2 separate regions of the Homo sapiens genome follow, and region 1 is linked to region 2. The links are contacts of gene promoters, found by promoter capture Hi-C in blood cells and fetal thymus (Javierre and others, 2016). All regions are on one chromosome and are shown on one strand. The core of a region is centred on a gene start or on the middle of the fragment in contact, and the rest is flanking DNA. Distances in the headings are between cores, read along the strand shown. Region 1 overlaps ZFAND3 (zinc finger AN1-type containing 3). Region 2 holds the start of BTBD9-AS1 (BTBD9 antisense RNA 1).

What was found. Contacts are between HindIII fragments. The CHiCAGO score rates a contact against its expected background, and 5 or more counts as called.
Region 1: a fragment that was not itself captured here is called in contact with the fragment with the promoter of BTBD9-AS1 in region 2 in 1 of 17 cell types (M2 macrophages); the score reaches 6.5 in M2 macrophages.

What each region holds. Positions count from the first base shown.
Region 1 is chr6:38,136,922-38,142,099 of GRCh38, forward strand. The region is part of intron 5 of ZFAND3 (zinc finger AN1-type containing 3); the gene reads left to right. LOC124901314 (a long non-coding RNA gene) reads left to right here. Exons shown (of 2, transcript XR_007059570.1): 1 at 1-698; 2 at 1,517-5,178. Among named protein-coding and RNA genes, the nearest start is that of ZFAND3, 320 kb to the left of the region's middle. RefSeq lists an enhancer at 1,246-2,090. The HindIII fragment of the contact is 6,946 bases long and covers 197-5,178 here.
Region 2 is chr6:38,479,112-38,484,206 of GRCh38, forward strand. It overlaps BTBD9-AS1 (BTBD9 antisense RNA 1), which reads left to right and starts at 2,485. Exons shown (of 2, transcript NR_144472.1): 1 at 2,485-2,675; 2 at 2,956-3,416. The region is part of intron 6 of BTBD9 (BTB domain containing 9); the gene reads right to left. The HindIII fragment of the contact is 1,570 bases long and covers 1,113-2,682 here.

The DNA of each region.
Region 1 (5,178 bases), core at 2,420-4,919, 340 kb before region 2:
GCTAGGTTTATGTTAATACTCTTGCATCAATTAAATTGCTCTTCCCTCAAATCCAGGATTAATTTTCCATGGAATCTGGAGTAACTGACCAAAATACCAGGGTGGAATAGGAAATGGATGTCAGTGGGAATTGTGTGGTTACATTCAATTCTGTGTTGTCTGTACTCCGCTTGTTTGTAATTATGAGCAACAGCAAAGCTTCAGTTCCAGGAGAGTATCCAGTGCTATCTTGGACATTTCTGGGTTACCTCTAAGAGTGAGCTCAGCAAGTGTAGGCTCCTATGAATAACGGCAATAGAAAGGCACTGTTAGGAAAGTAAACGTGCTACTGCAAAAAACAGGATACACCACAAGCCAGACAGCAGTAGTTTTTCAGTTGTGCCCAGTGCACTTGTGTTCACCCAGGTAACTGGATGAACTGTGTGGTGATGGTGTTCTCCTGTGAGGGGGAGGGGCACAGTTACTAGCATTAAATATTGCTAGAAGTAATATTTTTCTGTTTTTCTATCTTGTTGCTAGAAGCAATATGTTTCTATTTTTAATGAGTCAAATGCTGACTCTATTTATTTATTCATTCTGTTCATCTTTATTGAGTTGTAGAGGAAGAGCAAGGGGTAAAACTGACAAAAGTCCCTGACCTCTTGGTGCTTTTATTCTTTAGGGGAGAGATGCAGTAAGCAAGGGAACAGATAAACAAGGTAATTTCTGATGGGAGCAGGAGATATGATGTAATAAAATGACAGTGTGATAAGGGAAAGGGGGAGCTGCAAATAGGGAAGGGGGAGGCCAGCACCTGGGAGGACATGAAAGCTGAGCTGAACATAAAAGCTGGGAGAGCCAGCCATTCAGAGAGTTGGGAGAGCAGTGCCCTAGACAGAACAAAGGCCCTGGAGGGAGGAACAAACTTGGTGTATCTGAGGAAGAGAAAGCTGGCCAGCCCGGCCAGAGCACAGTGCGTTGCGGGAGGAGAGTGGAGACGCAGCAGGGATCAGTCGGGGGCTTGCATGTCTTTGCAAAGAATCTGATTATTGTAAACATAGTGAGAAGGCATTGAATGGTTTTAAGCAAAGGAGTGATCTGACTTAAATTTTAAAAATATTCCCCTGGAGAGCCAGGCACGGTAACTCACAGCTGTAATCTTAGCACTGGGGACGCGGAGGTGGGAGTATCAGTTGAGCTCAGGAGTTGGAGACCAACCTGGGCAACATAGTGAGACCTTGTCTCTATTAAAGAAAGAAAAAAAAAAGAAAAATATATTTCTCTGGGAGAGAAACACATGCTTGTGTATGCACAGATGCATGGACTCTCAAGAATACATAAAAATAGACAGTGGTGGTGGTTGCTGGGCTTCTGGAGAGGGTAACAGAATGAGATGGGAGACTTACTTTCTGCTAAATATCATTTTATACAATTTGAATTTTTATTATATTCATGTACTACCTTTAAATAGGCAAAGTAAGAATGAACAAATACAAAACAAGTACATCTCAGGTCAATTTTTTTTTTTTAAATCCAGAAGTTCCCTCCAACTGCTGGGAGGGGGACGGCTTGGAGGGCAGCAAAGGCAGAAGCAGGCAACACGCCTGAGCTCTAGCAGCCTGGTGGAGCCATCGGCCTCACCGCATTCCAGCCCTGCTGGCTGCCTTTCTCTTCCATCAGTATGCTGAGCTTATTCCTGCCACAGGACATTTGCATGAGAAGAGGTGCAGAGCCGATTCAGGACATCATTTAGATCTAACTAGACCTCTAATAAAGTCAGTGTGAGGAGTAAGGAAAAGAGAGGAATCAAGAATTGAGCCCACAGTTTGACTTGAACAGCAGCTGGGTGGATATATTGCCACTCACACTGAGGCAGAGAAGATGAGGAGATAAACTAACAGAGGTCAAGAAGATGAAGAGTTGTTTCAAACATGGTACAGTTGAGATTCCTAGCATTATTCTAGTCAGACGTGTTTGTCAAGTAGGCCATTGGATATCGGGATTTGGATTTGAGGGGAATTCATAGATGGAAATATAAGTTCAAGAGGCATCAGCATGGATACCCTATTTGGATCTGGATGAAATTACCTAAAGGAGAAAATGCAGGAGGACGTGATGCTGGGTGATTTTAGAGGAGAAACCATGAAGGATTCCAAGGAGCAGCAGTTGGTCAGGTGGGAAGAAAGGAGTGTGACATCACAGAAGATGAAAAATAAAAGTATTTTAAGAAACAGAAAAGTGGACAAATGCTGTAGAGGTTGAGGTGAGGATATTGGATTTCGCCCCTTGAATACCTGATTGGCCTTTGCTTGCTCCCTAGGGTTCAGAGAACACAGTCTTTCTATACCTAACCTATCATTCATTTACCTGACCAAAATATTTTGAGTGAACCAAGCAGTATTTTAGGGATAGAGGATATGTGATAAATTACAGAAGCATGGTGCTTGATTTTATGAAATCTAGCCAAGGAGACAAATTAAATGAACAAATTCCACAAATGACGCTAAATTAAAATTGTGACTAGTGATTGAAGGAAAAGTTCAAGATGCCTTGAAAGCATCCAACTGGGCCCTAACCTAGTCTGAGGGTCCAGGAAGATCTTCCTGAGGAAGTCATTGAAGCTAAGGCCTGAGTAAGCAAGAATTTCCTTTGGAAGTCAGTGTGTCTGGGACATAGAATGCAAGGGAGTAAATGGCACAAGGGGAAGCGGCAGCCAGGGTTGAGATCGTGCTTCAGTGGGGAAATTTTTATTGTAATCAGTGGAGCACGGTAATCACAGACAGGGCTGGATCTCATCATCTCATCATGTTGGCTGCCCTGAGGAAGGTGGCTTTGATGTGGGGCGACCACCTAAAGGAAGCTGTTGCAGTAGCCTCGGAAAAAAGTTACTGGTCTCTTTGACTAGGTGGTGGCTTATGACGCTGGCTGCTCTGAGGAAGGTGGATTTGATATGGGGCGACCACCTAAAGGAGGCTATTGCAGTAGCCCTGGAAAAAAAGATTCTGGCGGCTTTGACTAGGTGGTGGCAGTAGAGATGGCAAGAAGTGAATGGATTTGATTTTTGGAAATCGTATCCACAAGACTCGGTAATTGAATGTGAAGAGTAAGTAAGGTATCAGTGATGACTCCAGGTTTGTGTCATGAGCCACTGGCTGCATGGTGGCCCTATTCTCTTAGAATGGGAGACATTGAAGAAGAAGCAGATTTGTGAGGAAGTAGCAAGTGTCCTATGTTAGACATCTCAAGTCTGAAATACCTGAGATGCCAAGTAGATAATTGAATACACAGATATGGAGCTCCAAAGAGAGGTCTGGGGCAGAGAGATAAATTTCAGAATTGTTAGCATACATAGTTAGAATTTTAACCTTGAAGAAGAGTGTGAAGAGTGTAGGATTAAGACAAAAAGAAGGTCCAGCACTGAATAATGCTAATATTTCAAGGATAGCAGATGAAGAGCTATCAGAGAAAGAGAAGGAAAACAAGGTAAGCAGATGTCACAGAGCCCACAGGAGTAGTCAGCTTTCTAGAGGTTCTAAGTGATAATTGAAAAGGGTCATTAGATTTAGTGATTTTCAGGCTCCATTCGTAGGGTGTTTTGTTTTGTTTTGAGACAGGGTCTTGGTCTTTTGCCCAGGCTAGAGTGCAGTGGCTCAATAATGGCTCACTGCAGCCTTGACCTCCTGGTTGCAAGTGATCCTCCTGCCTCAGCCCCACAAAATGCTGGGCTTACAGACATGAGCCACCATGCCCAGCTGTTCATGGGGTGTTTTTTTATACCCAAATTGTAACCATTAGGTGAAGTCATCATATCTGAGCCCCCTCTCCTACACCCCCAAGTGAAATGGAACTGGGCTATGTGGTTATTAATACCTTCCACACAGGAGATTTGTAGAGTCCTTTAGTGGGCTATCCATTCAGTAGGGCTTTCACTATAGTGTGTAGTCTGACTTCAGATTTGAACTCATGTCTGCAGAAAATATTTTTCTATACTGAATAAGCCTCTTCCCCTTCAGGGCAGGTGTTTTTAAATAAACTAACTTTAAACATGGAGAATCAAGAAGCCAGCTTCTCTGCCCGCCCCCACCCCCACCCACACCACACAGTCTTATAACAGTGGACAGCAGACATTGTAGGACTTCTGACCTTGCAGTTCAGATTTTGTGGAAACGGGGCAAAAGCATGCTTGTACTTCTAAGCTCCTCGGAATGACCTTTTTGAGTTATCGTGGTGAAAACAAGAAGCCCTTAGAGAAACTTCATTCTTAAAACAAGCACATAAAACAAGTGCATGTGATGCTGGCACAGTTTGGGTGAAAACATAGATTGTTTGCAGAATGTCTACAGCCCATTCCTTTCTCCTGCTCTTCCTTTCACTACAGCTCCCAGCCTGACAGTCTTGGGGAAATAGACATGAGGCTTTTCAACAAACAATCAGTACGTGACCAAACTTGGCAACACATGCTCTGCCTCTGTTTGTGACAGAGGCTTGCAGAATACTCAGCTGTACCTGTAGAGGAGCTCCTCTCTGATGTCCTTGGAAAGTTTCCGTGTCCCTTTCATGGTGTCCCTAACCACTGAGTACTTTCCAGGCTGCACTATATAGTCTTTGTATATTTAATTCAGATTTCTCTGAAATTTGCATATCTTCAGAAATTTTTACTTAGCTTGTCACTTAGCATGCATTTATAGTCTGTAAAGACAGGCTTGTGGAGGGGGAGAGAGGAAACTTGTACATCATATGTTCAGAGGAAGATTTCCACATTCGTTCTCTTTTGTCGGCAGTGACTTCTCAAAGGAGAATGGAACCAGAATCTAGATGGGGAGGTAAAAGCAAGTGGGGCAGAAAAAATGTTGTGTGAATGGAGGAGGAAGGAACAGACATGATGGGGGAAGGGGGTCAGAGTCATAATGCCAAGCATGTCAGCTGCACCGTGTAGGGCAAAATGGCAAAAGGGATGACCCCACCCCGAAGAATCATCCCAGGACCAACCAGCCTTCCTTGAGCACATGCCGGGTGCTTCACAGGCACGGTTTTCATTTATGCCCGTAACAGCCCCATCTTAGAGCAGACACAGCGGAGGTTCTTCAAGGTTAAATGGCCTGAGCCACATAACTGTCAAAACAGGGCAGCAGGAACCTGAATTCAGTACTTGGGTCTAAAGCTCACACTCCATGCTGTATTATCCTGAAAGAGAATGTG
Region 2 (5,095 bases), core at 1,235-3,734:
GACCAACACCACAGGAGGAGAGATTTCCCTGGGCTTTGCTCTGGCTATGAAAGAGTTTCCAAATATACAATGAAAAGTCAGTGGAACCTGACAGGCGCCCAATGTGGAGCACAGGGGTTCAGACACACAACCCCTCCAGCTCCTCTCCCGACGGCTTCCCACCCACTGAGCACTGGCCAAACCCTGGTTAAGCGAGCACTGACCTTCCTGTTTATCTGATAATCCACACAGTGTAGATGGGAAAAAATTGAAAGATAGAAAGGAGGAAGCATAAAAAAAATCATTTCCTCAATGTTAGTAAAAACATAAATTGGTTACATGACAAACATGAGGTGGTGACTATGTTAATGGTACAATGGCAAAGTTATTACAATCTTTGGAAGAAAAAAAAAATCCCATTTCTTCACAACTTTCCAACATTTTAAAATCCAAGCCCAGGCTTGAATCACTGCTTTATGAGGTAACACTCCCTTTCTGACTGCATCCGTGTGACTGGGCCACCAAGTCCCACTGATGTAGTTGGTATTACTACTGCTCAATCAACACCTCTCAGAACAACAACTTTCACTTCAGAATCCAAGCCTCAAGTTATAGGGGGCACTAAAATCTTTTTTTATTTTTATTTTTATTTTTAAAAGACAGGATCTGGCTCTGTCGCCCAGGCTAGAGTGCAGTGGCGTGATCTCGGCTCACTGCAACCTCCACCTCTCGGGCTCAAGCAATCCCGCTGCCTCAGCCTCCTGAGTAGCTGGGACTACAGGTGTGCACCACCATGCCCAGCTAACTTTTGTATTTTTGGTAGAGAAAGGGTTCCGTCATGTTGCCCAGGCTGGTCTGGAACTCCTGGGCTCAAGCGATCCTCCTGCCTCGGCCTCCCAAGGTGTGGAGATTACAGGCATGAGTCACTATGCCCAGATGAGCACTAAAATCTTTAAATAAACGCTCTTTTCTATAGACTGCTAAGAGAAATAGAAGGGAAAAAAGCAATACAATACTTAAGATTTACTGGAGAAGTACTACTGGGAATTGAGGGGAGAGTGTACTCTTTGGAAACAGATAAACGTAGCTCTGAAACCCTGCCTTGCTCCTTGCTAGCTGCATGATTCTGAGCAAGCTTCTTGATACTCAGCTTCCTCATCCATAAATACGGGGAGCAATGCACTTCCTTTGCAGGGCTCTTGTGGGCTGAGAGACAGCATGCATTCAACACTCAGAGTACCTCTCCTTTGTCGGTGCTCAATAAACAGTAGCTCATCTCTGCCATTCCTGGAGTTAAGGCAGAAGACCCACAGTACAGCACTCTGCTTAGGAGCTCTTATGAAAGTGTAGGTCAGATTGGTGCAAGTCCTGTCAAATGGGCATTGGTGGGTTACACAATCTGCTTTTAGCCTCTCATTTAAATTAAGCATGGGCCAGAACATCAAACTCTTTTCAAGAAATCAGTGCTGTAACTGGGACCCTGAGACTACCTCCATGCAAAGTAGTATATAAGTAAAAAGCTCTAATTTTGCTTGTAGCTCAGCTATAGAACACGCCAAAACCCCCCACCAAACCCACTGTTCTAAGTAATGGAAGTGTACTCTGAGAACCATCTGAAAAGAAGCCTGACAACTTGCCTGTCTTATTCCCCACCTGACCTCAATCTTTCTTCCTCTGAGTGGATGATTCCAGTGCCAGTTTTAGATCCAGTGCCTACCCAAGATTTGGCGCTTCCCAAACAGACTGTAGTGTTGGTAGACAGCATATAGCCATCACACAGGCTGACACTAAGAGATAGTGGGTATGAATGTGCGCTCTGTGCAAAATCCTCATGGGGAAGGAAGGCAACACCTGGGTACCTTTGGCAATGTAAAAATTCCCTTCTTTTAAAAATGCTCTTTAAACAAAGAGCTTTATATCTAGACTCAAAAATGCCTTTCCATCAGTATCAGCTTCTCCCAGGTAAAAGGAAGTGAAGACAGAAACAATGGAAATCCCATTGAGTAGGGAGAGGCAAAACAGAAAGGTTTATTCTAACGTGAGAGGAGCCCATGATGATGTGAAAGGGAAAGAAGAGAGAAGAATGGCATATAACCTGGAAGATTCAAGTACATTCACAGATAGATACTTTCCCAAGGTGTGCAGGAATCTAGCCCTTCTTCAAGGAGACAACCATAGCATCATATAATTCAAATTAATTCCTTTCTGAATGAGAGCTGAGTAACAAAGACAAAACTTGGCAAGATGGCACAGCACAGTGAGTGCAAAATTGTATTCCCAGTTGATACTTGGTGAGATGTTAGGTTGTCAGCTTAATGTAAAATAAAATGAGGCCGCACATCGTAAAGTGTTTTGAAAAGTAAAAATCCAAGGGAGATAGGAAGGCAGCATTTTAATGAGTCTAGAGAAAATGAATTCCAGGGTGAGCAGCTCTGCTCACGACCTCTTTTCAGTTGGTATCCCATAGGCCTCTGGGAAGCGGGGCACATGAGGGAGGGGCCAGTGCCTGCCTCCACACTACCCCCTCTCCCCTAATGAGGCTGGCAGCACCATTTGCTAGCACCTGGCAGATGAGAGAGAAAGAAAACCTGGTGTGGAGACCCCCATCCATTAAAGGCAAGAGAGTGAAAAGTGGGAGAGAAAGCTCCCAAGTTCAACAGCAGTGACCTAGGGTCATGCAGTGAGGACTTACAAAGGTATAAAAGCTTCTTTATTCAGGTGGTTCCTTTCAGCGCAACTTATTTGATGATGCTTAATGCAGGCAGTTAAAAGAACAGTTCAGTTGGATATAACTTACAGTACGTCACACAAATCTGGAGTGCCCAAGGAACATTAGTTTCAGGGAACACACTGAGATTATAACCAGCCTTTTTGCCAGGGGCAGCTTGTAACTCAGAAAGTCATGTTTCATTTAGGATGTGCTGTATAATGTTGAAGGGGAAAGTAACTATTTTGTTTTGTTGTGTTTCTTCCCAGTCCAAGAAGAAAGCATTTGGAGAAGTGCTACACATGCTCAACTGAACTTCCTGTCAAATTGTTCTCACTCGTTTGGGCACAAGTCTGCTTAAGCCATCTCTCATTAACATTTACTCTTGCCCGAAGCCCTCTACGCCCCCAACCCCTGCTAATCTTCCACAAGCAAGCTGATCACACTGGGATCTCCTTTTCCCAGACACGTTTGATTCTCACTTTCTCCTGAACCTAGAAATGTGCTTCCCACCAAAGCATGCCAGGCACTAACTCGTCCCTACTGAAAGGGGCTGTTAAAAGCTCATCTTCTTTCCAGATGGTAGTGAGGTGTGAGGTGATCCTTTCTCTTTCTTTTTTTTTTTTTTTTACTTTTAGCTACCCCTCAATTCTGGTGTTCAGTAACAATGTATTCCACTTAAAAGAGAGAAATCATATTAATTATTCTAAGATATAAACACTTAATTTTATTCATGCTCTTGAATTACTTTCCTTTCTACCGCATGTTTGTGTAGCTGTTATATGAGTCCTTTCTACTGATGTAGCTGTCATTCCTTCAACTCAGTTCTTGCCAAACACTGAGCTATGTCTGGAGATACAAAGATAACTACTCTTGTTGAAGAGATGCCAGTTTAGTGGGGGAGACAGACATGTAAACAGATCTGTATCTGAGATAGATGGCCTGGGTAGGAAAAGAATATATATAGCACAAATAACTCAGTGGACCTGCAAAAACAGAGCTTGAGGCCATGATATACCACAAAGACCCACCAAGGCACAAGCACTGTCAACATGAAGGTAAGGCTTCCATTTTTGCCTCTTTCAATCTGGGTACATCTATTCTACATACTCTGCCTTTCCTCCTGTTACAGGAAAAGAAGGAACCTCAATTCTACCTAAAGTCAATCTTCTCCTTGAGCTAGAGATCCAGCCCCTCTCCCATAATGAGGTACACGGCCCCTACAAAGATCCACTCTCCTGCATTATCAAATCCTCCCTCCCTGTGGTATCATTCCAGTCCACACACACACATACCTTAACATCATCCTCCCTTGACCCTAGGTCCCCCTCCATCCTCTTCATCATTTCTCTGCTTCCCCTCCCAGTGATACTTTATCTTCTACATGTATTGCTACCCCTATTCCCTCAGCCTCTATTCCCTTCTCCCTTGACTCCACTGAAATGGCTCTTAAAGGACGCCACTAAGCTCTATCTTGCTACAACCAGGAGTCGATTTTCTGTTACCTACTGCCCTCTCCCATCTCCCCTCCTCATACCGAAAGACTGACTTTTTAAGACTTCCATGAAAATGTTGTCCTTGTTTTCTTCCTGCCTCACTGGCAGCTCCTTCCCAGTCTCTTGTATTCACTTTTCCTTGCCCACCTGCTGTCTGGTCTTCCCTATAGTCCATTCTCACACTAGATCACACTAGAGTTATCTTTCAAAAATCTCAACTACCATCACCTGGTTTAAACCCTTCTATGGTTTCCCATCATCCTTAGAATTCGACACTATCAAGTCCCTGTAGGACATGGCTCCTGTCTATCTGTCTGCCCTCATTGCTAAACATACCTTCCTCCCAACACCCTACAGACTATCTACCCACCAGATTTCAGAAACACATGGCCTTCTTTCTGTTCCTCAAAAACCCCAAGCTAGTTTCTACTTCACAGCCTTTACTCTTGCTGTTCCCTAGCCTGGAACACTTCTCCCTTAGATTGCTGCATAGCCAAGCCAACTTCTTGTAATTCAAGTTTTGGCTCAACTCACTTCCTCAGAAAGGCCTTCCCTGACCGTTCTGCTCAAGTGCTCCTTCCCCAAACTCAACCACTGGCTAGCTTATTCCCCCATTCCAATTTTGTCAAACTATGACTAGTCAGTATCACATTTATTTCTTTACATCTCATTTTTCTCTCTCTCCTACTACAATGTAAACTGCGTTAAGCAACAACTTAATCTCGTTTACTGCTATATGTCTACTTCCAGGCACAGTGTTTAGTATATTGTGGGTGCTCCGTAAACATTTTACTCAATGGATAAATGAAATGACGATGAAATCCTTGTTTAGAATCCTGTGTTCAGCTCTTTGCTCTTCAACTGTAGACATGCACAGAAGCATAAAGGTGAGACATAATAACTAGTGCACAGG